4 separate regions of the Homo sapiens genome follow, and all the other regions are linked to region 4. Evidence: promoter capture Hi-C in 16 types of primary human blood cells and fetal thymus (Javierre and others, 2016). All regions are on one chromosome and are shown on one strand. The core of a region is centred on a gene start or on the middle of the fragment in contact, and the rest is flanking DNA. Distances in the headings are between cores, read along the strand shown.

What was found. The method cuts DNA at HindIII sites, captures the fragments that hold promoters and counts their contacts. A CHiCAGO score of 5 or more calls a contact.
Region 1: a contact is called between a fragment that was not itself captured here and the fragment with the promoter of NOP2 in region 4, in 8 of 17 cell types (total CD8 T cells, naive CD4 T cells, activated CD4 T cells and 5 more). The highest score is 9.5, in total CD8 T cells.
Region 2: a fragment that was not itself captured here is called in contact with the fragment with the promoter of NOP2 in region 4 in 9 of 17 cell types (activated CD4 T cells, total CD8 T cells, non-activated CD4 T cells and 6 more); the score reaches 11.0 in activated CD4 T cells.
Region 3: a contact is called between a fragment that was not itself captured here and the fragment with the promoter of NOP2 in region 4, in 8 of 17 cell types (activated CD4 T cells, total CD8 T cells, naive CD8 T cells and 5 more). The highest score is 7.4, in activated CD4 T cells.

Annotation. Positions count from the first base shown.
Region 1 is chr12:6,462,332-6,465,031 of GRCh38, forward strand. It overlaps VAMP1 (vesicle associated membrane protein 1), which reads right to left. Exons shown (of 5, transcript NM_014231.5): 4 at 2,559-2,610; 5 at 1-2,155. The coding sequence ends at 2,139. It also overlaps a transcript of TAPBPL not described here. Among named protein-coding and RNA genes, the nearest start is that of VAMP1, 7.0 kb to the right of the region's middle. The HindIII fragment of the contact is 4,495 bases long and covers 1-2,700 here.
Region 2 is chr12:6,479,153-6,481,852 of GRCh38, forward strand. It overlaps the pseudogene PKP2P1. Among named protein-coding and RNA genes, the nearest start is that of VAMP1, 9.8 kb to the left of the region's middle. The HindIII fragment of the contact is 162 bases long and covers 1,241-1,402 here.
Region 3 is chr12:6,445,062-6,447,935 of GRCh38, forward strand. It overlaps CD27 (CD27 molecule), which reads left to right. Exons shown (of 6, transcript NM_001242.5): 1 at 1-170; 2 at 363-494. The coding sequence starts at 35. CD27-AS1 (CD27 antisense RNA 1) reads right to left here. Exons shown (of 6, transcript NR_015382.2): 4 at 1,900-2,026. Among named protein-coding and RNA genes, the nearest start is that of CD27, 1.5 kb to the left of the region's middle. RefSeq lists enhancers at 30-531, 76-135, 166-345, 1,055-1,174. The HindIII fragment of the contact is 1,460 bases long and covers 595-2,054 here.
Region 4 is chr12:6,567,014-6,569,713 of GRCh38, forward strand. It overlaps NOP2 (NOP2 nucleolar protein), which reads right to left and starts at 1,278. Exons shown (of 16, transcript NM_001258308.2): 1 at 1,194-1,278; 2 at 803-909. The coding sequence starts at 905. It overlaps CHD4-AS1 (CHD4 antisense RNA 1), which reads left to right and starts at 1,358. Exons shown (of 3, transcript NR_199067.1): 1 at 1,358-2,517. RefSeq lists enhancers at 1,128-1,749, 1,573-1,622. The HindIII fragment of the contact is 18,468 bases long and covers 1-2,700 here.

The DNA.
Region 1 (2,700 bases), core at 201-2,700, 100 kb before region 4:
TTACTCTATACAAGTATGAGATCAGGGTTAGGAAAAAAAGACAAAGAGGTGATGACAGACACACAGTGGAAACCCCACATCGTCTCATGGCAAACCGAAGAACGGGATGTGGGAAGCTCAGCTTCATTTGACTGCAAAGTCCCAGGGTTTTGTTGCACATTTGCTCATGCACATGGGTGGTGGGAGGAAAGGGGGATAGCAGAGACACACAGAAGAGGGTACAGGGTGGGTGAGAAAGAAAGTAGAAGGGCTAATACCCCCAAAGAACAAGGCCAACTACACCTGGTGAGCCTCAGAGGGACAGAAACCCAGGAATGATTCCTGTGATAGGGCTGGGAGAGCCAAGAGGACGGATTCGCTCCAGGCTTGGGACACATCGAGGACAGTGGTGGTTCTTCTCCAGCGGTGACCCCCTGCATTAGGCAAGGAGGAGCCCAGAGGAGAGTGGAGACCTTCGAGGGGGGCCGTTGGGAGGGTACTGACTGCTTTCTTCCAGCTCTTCAGTCCCGCCCTTGGGCAGGACGAAGGGAATGTGGGAAACAAGGGCGAAAGGAAAGGAAGGATGGTTTTGAGCAATGAAATGCTGCTGCATGGAAAGTGGGCATCCAGACCCTGCCCAGCATGGCCTCAGCCTCTTCCTGTTCGTGGACCGAGGGAAGAAGGAATAAAGGGCCATGGGCATTCTCCGCTCTGTTCCCAGCCTGCCCTCCTCCCCTTGCACCTGGGCTTATCCCACATTAATAGCCCATCCTGAAGCTCAGCAATTGCCCCGAAGATAGGCTGAGCAGATCCCATCCTCAGGTTCCACTGTCTATACACACAAACCATGCAAAGAGGAGGAAGAGAAAGGAGGCAAAGTAGAATTCAGACAGGAAAGGGTGGTTCAAAGGGGAATATACTACAGGAAGAACAGAGAGGCGGCTCTCAAGGAGAGGGCCCCATGACAGCACAGCAATACACAAGCACACCTGACACAGGCTGGCACGCCTCCCCCCAAGGTGGGGCTGGTGGGTCTACATGACTTCTCTGCATCCTGAGGATCGGCCGGGCCCCAGGAAGAACCACTTGCCTCATCCCTGTCTTTGGCAAGTGCACGGGTGGTGTGGAGGAAAGGATTCCATGGGTGTCCAAAGATCTCACACTGCTAACACCCTCACGCTCCTTCATCAACAGGAAGAGAGGAACAGGACCCTCTTTAACGAGGGCAAGGAGTGGCTTCCTCTGAGCTTGTTACTTTCAAATTAAGCACTTGACTCACTGTTTCTCTATAACTAACAGGCAATCTCTCTCTTTATGCCAACAATTAACTGGGAGCTAGGTTAAATTATTTGGCTAGATAAAACTACCAGCTAGATGGATTTATTTGGTGCCCTCATACAGAATGCTGTAGAAAATGTAAAGAAGAGAAAGCTCCTTCCAGCTAGAAGCACATGGGACTGCTTCTAGGATGGAAACAAGTCCTGCTATTTTCACAATCCCTAAGTGTTCTCCAGGCCTCTGGAGAACAAAGTAAAGTTGTAAGATCCCCAAAGACACGGAAAATCCTGGACGAACAGATTAGAAATAACTACAAAAAACAAGTTTTTACTTTCGAAAAGGGTACTGCACTGAAACCAAGTTGGACTTTGGTCCACCCCCAGGACCCTCTTCAGGCCTGGTCCAGGAAGGAAAGCTCCACATGACCAGGCAGTACTGAGTGAGCTGCCATCTTCCCAGCCCCTCCCTAGCTCCTACCAGTGGCCAGGTTTTCTAGAAGTCACCATGGGCACCGATACTCTTCTCCTCCCAAGTCTGGGCAGCTTCATGGGTACTTCGCCTCAGCCACTCCCCTCCCTGCCCCTTCCCTTGGCCTCCAACTCTTTGGGGCTTTGGGGGAACTTGAGAGTACAGAAAAAGCAGGCAGGGAGGAGGCGCCAGCTGTTGCTCTTCGGGTAATGACTTAGATTGTGCCACGAGCAGCATTTCTAGTGTTGAGGGACAGAGTGCAAATGAACGCAACGAAAAAGGAGGAATGGGTGATGGAGAAGCCTGGGCTGGAATGGAGGACGGTGGGTGGGGAAGTGTGTTGAGAGAGCAAACAGAGGGCAGAGGACATGAATGTGGATGGCAATGGACAACAGGGAAGGGGTGGTACATTCTCAAGTAAAAAAGTAGACTGGACACAGGAATCAGGAAGTCCCAGACGGAAAAGAGAAAGAGACAGGAGAAAACAAGAGGGTGAATTACACCAAGTTACCAGACATTCAGGTCTCTCCATTGTTAAGTGCCCCATCCCCATGGTCTCCCTCCAACCCAAGCCAGTGACACACAGCATAGCCCCACTTCCTCAGAACAGGAGGCGCCATCTCCCTGCAATGCGTTGCAGGGGGAAGGCTTGTCCATCAAAGAAATCCCTTGTCTCTGCCCTTCCCCCGTCCCGAACCAGGTGACGATCCCATAGCAGCGGTCTCCATACCTCAGTCAGAGCAGCCCCACTCCCCAGGCAGGCAGGCAGGCAGGGAGAAGACTCCAGGACCTTCCCACCTCTTCACCCCACCAGCAACTTCAGCGATACTTACTTACAATAACTACCACGATGATGGCACAGATGGCTCCCAGCATGATCATCATCTGAGGAAACATGGACAAAAAATGAGCCCTTGGATTTCAGGAATGAGGAAAAGAGCCACATCTCTAGTGGGAAACAGAATTCCTTCCATC
Region 2 (2,700 bases), core at 72-2,571, 88 kb before region 4:
GAGAATATAATCATCTCCTTTTCTGGATGGCCTGAAGGAGACTACCCAAAAGCGAATGGTTTGCTCGATTTTGACACAGTCTACAACCCACTGGATGTCTAAGAAACATGAGTGCTGCTGGCCCTGATAGGAGAAAAGCAATGAGAAGATGTGACCGACTCATTGACTCACTGGTCCATTATGTCAGAGGAACCATTGCGGATTACCAGCCAGATGACAAGGCCACGGAGAATTGTGTGCACATTCTTCATAACCTCTCCTACCAGCTGGAGGTAGAGCTCCCAGAGAAATATTCCCAGAATATCTATATTCAAAACCCAAATGTCCAGACTAACAACAAAAGTATTGGATGTTTTGGCAGTCGAAGCAGGAAACTAAAAGAGCAATACTAGGACATGCCGATGCCAGAGGAAAAGAGCAACCCCAAGGGCGTGGAGTGGCTGTGACACTCCATTGTGATAAGGATGTATCTGTCCTTGATCGCCAAGAGTGTCCCAAACTACACACAGGAAGCCTCCTTAGGCGCTCTCCAGAACCTCACAGCCGGAAGTGGACCAATGCCGACATCAGTGGCTCAGACAGTCGTCCAGAAGGAAAATGGCCTGCAGCACACCCGAAAGATGGTGCATGTCAGTGACCCAAGTGTGAAAAAGACAGCCAACTTGCTGCTGAGGAATCTGTCCCAGAATCTTTCTCTGCAGAATAAAATTGCCAAAGAAACTCTCCCCAGTTTGGTCTCCATCATTCCTGATACAGTCCCGAGTACTGACCTTCTCATTGAAACTACAGCCTCTGCCTGTTACATGTTGAACAACGTAATCCAAAACAGTTACCAGAATGCACAGCGCCTTCCGAATACCGGGGGCATCCAGAAAATTATGACCATCAGTGCAGGCGATGCCTATGCCTCCAACAAAGCAAGTAAAGCTGCTTCCATCCTCCTGTATTCTCTGTAGGCACACACGGAACTCCATCATGCCTACAAGAAGGCTCAGTTTAAGAAGACAGATTTTGTCAACAGCTGGACTGTCAAAGCCTACCACTCCCTTAAAGACTGAGGAAAATGACGAAGTATTCTCAGCTGCAAAAAAATCCCACAGGAAAACACCTATTTTTCTACTACCCAGCCCAAGAAACCTCAAAAGCATGCCTCGTTTCTATCATTTTCTATTTCCATGGTCCCCCGAATCCAGAAAACAAGTACAACATAATCTTATGAGTCTTCCAGAAGACTTTTGCAAGCTTGCCACCAGTAGATACTGGTCACAGGCTCTACAAATAGTGGTCTTTGTTATTAGGGCTTATGGTGCATGGCCTCCTGGAACCAAAATGTGAATTCATGTGGAATGGACTTTGATCCAATAAATAAGGAAAGAAGTTGTTGCATTACTGGGATTTTAAAAGCTTGATTTACATTTATATTCCTTTTCTAGTTCCCATGTTTTGTCACTCATGTGCACATTGCTTCACCATTGGGCCATGAGTATATTGTTCTGTAGTGTTGAAACAGAATGGAAATGACAAGAAATATCTGCAGTTATCCAGGAGAAAGTATAATGGCAAAATTATTTGTTTCTTTGTTTACTTTGTGCTCGTTTTTATCTCCTTAGGTTTTTTTCCTCTGATTTTTAAATAAACTTAAGAAATTTAGATTACAGAGTATGCATGACTGTAAGAAAAAGAAATTGAGAGGAAGTGATCATAGCAAATTAAAGAAACCTTTTTCTCCCAAAACTTAAAGTAAAATAAATAAAAATAAAAATAAATCTTTTCCCCAGAGAAAGGCAACTGTGATTATAAAGTTTAACCTTCCCCCAAACACTGAATGAATGAGATTTTTGCTCCGGAAATACTTTACCTATAACAACACCATTAAATCCAAATCTCTTCTAAACAATGGCATTCCGTGTAATGCCTTTCCTGGACATTTTTTTTTTTTTTTTTTTTTAGACGGAGCTCAGGCTGGAGTGCAGTGGTGCAATCTTGGCTCACTGCAACCTCCGCCTCCCTGGTTCAAGTGATTCTCCTGCCTCAGCCTCCTGAGTAGCTGGGATTACAGGCGTGCACCACCACGCCTGGCTAATTTTTTTGTATTTTTAGTAGAGACAGGGTTTCACCATGTTGGTCAGGCTGGTCTTGAACTCCTGACCTCATGATCCGCCCGGCTCAGCCTCCCAAAGTGCTGGGATTATAGGTGTGAGCCACCGCACCGGGCCTTCTGTATTTTTTAGGCCACTGCCCTGGACTAGTGGAAGAATGGACTCTAGTCTTTATCTGCAAGAGGAACTAAGGCCTTCTATCAGACTGCCCGGCCAGCCTGGGGCACTGAAAATACAGCTCATTTTAATGAGTTACATTATCAACCAGCTTTGCCCAGCATTTAAGAAATATCACAGGGCCACTAAATCTCATATGATCTTCTTCAAGCCATTATTTTAATTCAAGAAAACTCTAGAGAAAAAAGTGAAGAAGTCATGTTGAAGAAGATATAAGAATGTGTCAAGACCATACAGAAATGATATGAGAAATACTGGTGTTTTAAAAGGTGACATCATCCAGTGAAATGAATCTATATTAAATGTTATTTTAACTGCATTATGATTAAAACCATTCATATAGAGTTAGTCTTCACAACTACTATTCTGTTATATTTTGTTTTTTTTTTTTTAAATCTGACAACGTTTGTCATAAGTAAGATAA
Region 3 (2,874 bases), core at 75-2,574, 120 kb before region 4:
CTGGGCACAGAAAGGAGCCGCCTGGGCAGGGACCATGGCACGGCCACATCCCTGGTGGCTGTGCGTTCTGGGGACCCTGGTGGGGCTCTCAGCTACTCCAGCCCCCAAGAGCTGCCCAGAGAGGCACTACTGGGCTCAGGGAAAGCTGTGCTGCCAGATGTGTGAGCCAGGTAAGAGGGGGCCTTGGTAAGGGCCAGGTGAGTGGCGAAAGAGAGAGGACTGGGGTTAATACAGTAAATAGGCGCAGGGTGAGACTGAGCTCAAGCAAGGAGGGAAATCCTGCAGCTGTGGGGAGGCACCACCTTGAAGAGGGCAGAGAACCAGCCCTTCTCAGGCCTTGATCCCTTACCCTCTCCTCCCAGGAACATTCCTCGTGAAGGACTGTGACCAGCATAGAAAGGCTGCTCAGTGTGATCCTTGCATACCGGGGGTCTCCTTCTCTCCTGACCACCACACCCGGCCCCACTGTGAGAGCTGTCGGCACTGTAACTCTGGTGAGGTGGGCAAGGGTGTGTAGGTGGGGACGATGGACAAGCATCTGGGGGAGCAAGGCTGGTGACGGGTTTGGGGGTGCAAGGAGGATGACGGGGCCAAAGCTTTGGCCTTCTTCAAGGCTCACAGCAAGTGGAGCCAATGCTGGGAAATGCGGCACCCTAGGTGGGGCATGAATTAACGTGGGCAGACATCTAGTATTCCAGGAAAGGGATAAATAGAATTTGAGGGATTGGTGAGAACGGGTCTATGGATAGGATCAAGACAATAAAATGAGAGAAGTGGCTCTATGACCCCAGATTTCGGGCAAGCAACCCCCAACCAATAAACTGACTGTGTTCCCAGAGTGCACATGTGCAGGTTGGCCATTGGGAATTTGGAATACATCTTTCTAAGGAAATAACAAAGCAACCCAATAGGTAACAACCTTTTTTTGCACAAAAGCCAATTTGAGAAAATGAGTATGTATGTAGCCTGTGTTTTTATTTTATAGTTCCAAAAAAAAAGGTTTTTTTTAAACTAAGAAGTATAATATCTGCAGTTGTGCTTATGAATGCTGTTATTATTTCTCCATCTTCGCTACAATTTCAGAAACTACGGCCAGTATACACTAGAATAGCAGGCTTTAAAGTGGCCCCTTTGAACAAATGTTCTCTAGCAAGACACTTTTTAGAACCAGGTAACTGTAACTATTAAACTACCTACTTGCAAAACGTGTTTGGTGTCACTGGGTCTCTTGGTACTGGGTTTTGTTTTGTTTAGTTTAGAGACAAGGTCTAGCTCTGTCACCCAGGCTGGAGTGCAGTGGTGCAATCATAGCTCCCCACAGCCTTGAACTCCTGGGCTCAAGCAATCTTCTAGTCTCAGCCTCTGAAAGTGCCAGGATTACAGGTGTGAGCTGTAGTGCCTGGTCCCGTAAAAACAAAAACAAAAACCAACACCAGATGTGGTGGCTCATGCCTATAATCCCAGCACTTGGGAGGCCAAGGCAGAAGGGTATTTGCATATTTTGTAGAGACTTGAGCCCAGGAGCTTGAGACCAGCTGGGCAACATAGTGAGACCTTGTCTCTAAAAAAATTGGCTGGTCATGGTAGTGCACCTGCAGTCCCAGCTACTTGGGAGGCTGAGATGGGAAGATCACTTGAGCCCAAGAGGTCCCCAAGAGGTCCAGGCTGCTCACATCACTGCACTCCAGCCTGGGTAACAGAGCAAAACCCTTTTTCACACACACACACACACACACACAAAAAGCCAGAGCAGTGGCTCACACTTGTAATCCCAGCACTTTAGGAGGCCAAGGCAGGCGGATCCCTTGAGCCCAGGAGTTTAAGAACACCCTGGGCAACATGGCAAAACCCTGTCTCTACTAAAAATACAAAAAGTTAGCCAGGCGTGGTGGCACGAACCTGTAGTCCCAGCTACTCAGAAGGCTGAAGTGAGAAGATCACTTGAGTCCAGGAAGTGGAGGCTGCAGTGAGCCGTGACTGTACCACTGCACTCCAGCTTGGGAGACAGAGTGAGCAGAGTGAGACCCTGTTTCCAAAAAAAAAAAGAAAACAAAAGCTTTTCCATTGCAAATCAACCAAAAAGGAACGTCTTTAATACACAAGAAATATTCTTCAGTCTACTTAACTTAAAAATGTAACTGTAATAGATGCTTTTCTCTTGACAGCGGCCCCGGCAGGGTTGGAACTTTTCCTAGTCAAAACCCCCCTACTCACTCTGCAGACCCTTCCTGAAGGTCTTCGCCCCATACTGAGCCCATCTTCAGTCCCTTCACTTGTTCCAAACTAGCCCAATCCATGACCCTTCTCTGGGAGCTCAGCCAATAGATCCCAAAGTACCACAGCAGCACCTGGCTGCAGAAGGACCCCCGGGAAATGCAGTCAGGGGTGAGAAGATGGGTGGGCTGAATGAGCTCGGCCCTCTCTGGGCCTTAGTGCTGGCATCTATGAGATGAGGACATGCCTGAAGTCAGCCTGGAATTTTGAGCCCAGGTTATACCTGGTAAATAGAACTCCCAGGTCTCCGGATACTCACCACTAAAACAATAGCACCTCATTGTTTTTGTTTTGTTTTGTTTTGTTTTTTAATTATACTTTAAGTTCTAGGGTACATGTACACAATGTGCAGGTTTGTTACATAGGTATACATGTGCCATGTTGGTGTGCTGCACCCATTAACTCATCATTTACATTAGGTATATCTCCTAATGCTATCCCTCCTCCCTCCCCACACCCCACGACAGGCCCCAGTGTGTGATGTTCCCCTTCCTGTGTCCAAGTGTTCTCATTGTTCAATTCCCACCTACGAGTGAGAACACATTGTTTTTAACCCTCCCCAGCAGCTTCTTTAACCCCTCCATTTCCCTTTTGGCGGAG
Region 4 (2,700 bases), core at 28-2,527:
TCCAGGCTGGAGTGCAATGGCGTGATCTCAACTCACTGCAACCTCCTTCTCCCAGATTCAAGCGATTCTATTGCCTCAGCCTCCCATCACCACACCCAGCTAATTGTTGTATTTTTAGTAAAGACAGGGTTTCACCATGTTGGCCAGGCTGGTCTCGAACACTGGACCTCAGGTGATCCACCTGCCTCGGCCTCCCAAAGTGTTTCCTTAATAGTGCCTCTCTCACAGGACTCTAAGATGATTAAGCGATATAACATGACCAACAAGTTTAATACAGTGCCCAGGACTTCCTACTATCTCAATAAACTGCATCCTTTATCCAATGCCCAACACAAACTCCCGGTCCAGTGTTACCTCCCACCAGTCTTCCACACAGTATACTACTACTCGGCATGAAGCAGCCAGATCCGTGCTTTTCCATTTCCACCCCTTCCAAAAGGCAAATCAGTGACTGACCCCTCCCCTTCACTACTTCCTCTTGCTACAATGTTACCCATTTTTCAAAACCCAGCTTAACAAAAACTTTTACAGTTCTGCATGGGCTCCCCCTTCCTCTGAACTCACAATTGTTTTAAATCACACTTTTCCCTTGCATGAATAATAGTTGTGTCCGTGTCTTCACATCTCTACGACCTAAACAGTTCCCTACAATCTAAACGGCTGTTTCATTCATACCTCCTAGTAACTCATACAGAGAAGATTCCACTTAAATATAAAATGAACAGAAACTAAAAAAGAGAAGAGGTTATAATACAGAATACTGCAAAAGCTGAGGGATCAGGAGGCCACAACTAATCCTTACCTGCAGGCAAGAATCTGACGAGTTCTGTCTCGGCACCCTTCTGCTTCCGGGCCTTTCGGCCTGGCCCCCGCTTCTCCTTCGTAGGGTCCAACTTGCGCCCCATGGTACTGTGGCAGGCAGAAATGGGAGAAGGTGGCGTCGCGCGTGTCGGAGGGAACGGCAGAACGCACGCTTGGCGTATTATAGTGGGAAAGGGCACAGCCTCAACTCAGCACCCGCAACTCACTCAGCACTCCCGACTCAGCACCCGCGACTCAAGCACCCCCGCTATCCCCCTGGAGGCCCGACCGAACGCCCTCCCACCTGAAACCCAGGTAGCGCACCCTTCTCCCCACGTCCCAGACCAGGTCAGTGCTGCCACTCTTCGTCCCCCAATTTCCTCTAGACCCACCAGAATGCGGGTTAATGTCCGAGAGTGCCCTTCGGGCGGCCCTCCACGTGCAATCCGGACCTAGCTTTCGGCCGGCACTCGCCACAGAATCGTTCCACGCAGGCGCACGGGTAGCGCTAGCCTCGCGGCCCCGCCTCTTCCTGTTGCGCCTAGTCGGCCGCCGCACCCGGAACTTACGCTCGCCCTGGGAACGCCAGCGGAGCCGGCGGCGGCGAGTAGGGGGCAATTCGAAGGAGACGCGCAGCTTACACCCGCGGCGGGTGGAGGGAGCAATGTGACGAAACCATTGAGCTTGACCGACCTTCCCTCATGGAGTTGGCTTTTAGCCTCACGGCCGGTTTCTGTTGGGTGAAAGCCGCACCTTCTCCTCGAACCAGGGCCCGACATTGGAGCCCTCTCCCTCGCATCCACTGCCCTAGTCCAGCGTCAAGATCACGGAATTCCAGGCTGGGCGCAGTGGCTCACGCCTGTAATCCCAGCACTTTGGGAGGCTGAGGTGGGTGGATCACTTGAGGTCAGGAGTTCGAGACCAGCCTGGCCAATATGGTGAAACCCTGCTTCTACTAAAAATACAAAATTAGCCGGGCGTGGTGGCGGGCGCCTATAATCCCAGCTACTCGAGAGGCTGAGGCAGAATTGCTTGAGCCCGGGAGGCGGAGGTTGCAGTAAGCCGAGATCGTGCCACTTAAGCCTCACCAAGAGCGAAACTCCACCTCAAAAAAAAAAAACAAAAAAACCAGCCGGGCTCGGTGGCTCACGCCTGTAATCCCAGCACTTTGGGAGGTCGAGGCGGGCGGATCACGAGGTCAAGAAATCCGAGACCATCTTGGCCAACCTTGTCTCTATTAAAAATACAAAAATTAGTTGGGCATGGTGGCTGGCGCACGCGTGTAGTCCCAGCTACTCGGGAGGCTGAGGCAGGAGAATCGCTTGAACCCGGGAGGGGGAGGTTGCAGTGAGCTGAGATCGCGCCACTGTACTCCAGCCTGGCAACAAAGCGAGACTCCATCTCAAAACAAACAAACAAAAAAAACCGTGGAATTCCATGCCACTTACCTCCTCCTCTTTGCCCCTTTTTTAAAAATCTTTTTATAGAGACGGGTTGTAGGGGGTGGCGTCTCACTATATTGCCAGGGCTGGTCTAGAACTCCTGGGCTTAAGCGATCCTCCTGCCCCCACCTTTGTGCTGAGATTACAGGCTGTGAGCCACCGTGCCCCGCCCTCCCAGCACCTTCCTTGATGCTGACCCCTGCTCAGCCCCTCAATTAAGGTGCTGCACTGCACCTCATTCGCAGGGGGCCTCTTCGCCGGAACTCGCTTTCAGGTGGGTCTACAATTAGTTGGGAAACAACGGGTTGCAAGGCTGACCTGGTCTGGGACATGAGAAGGGGTGAACTACAAGGGTTTCAAGGTTGGAGGACGTTAGGTCGGGCCTCCGGGGGTGTGGGATTGAGGCTGTGTTCTTCCACAAATTGCATCCCAATTTTGCACAACTTAGCAAGAAAAC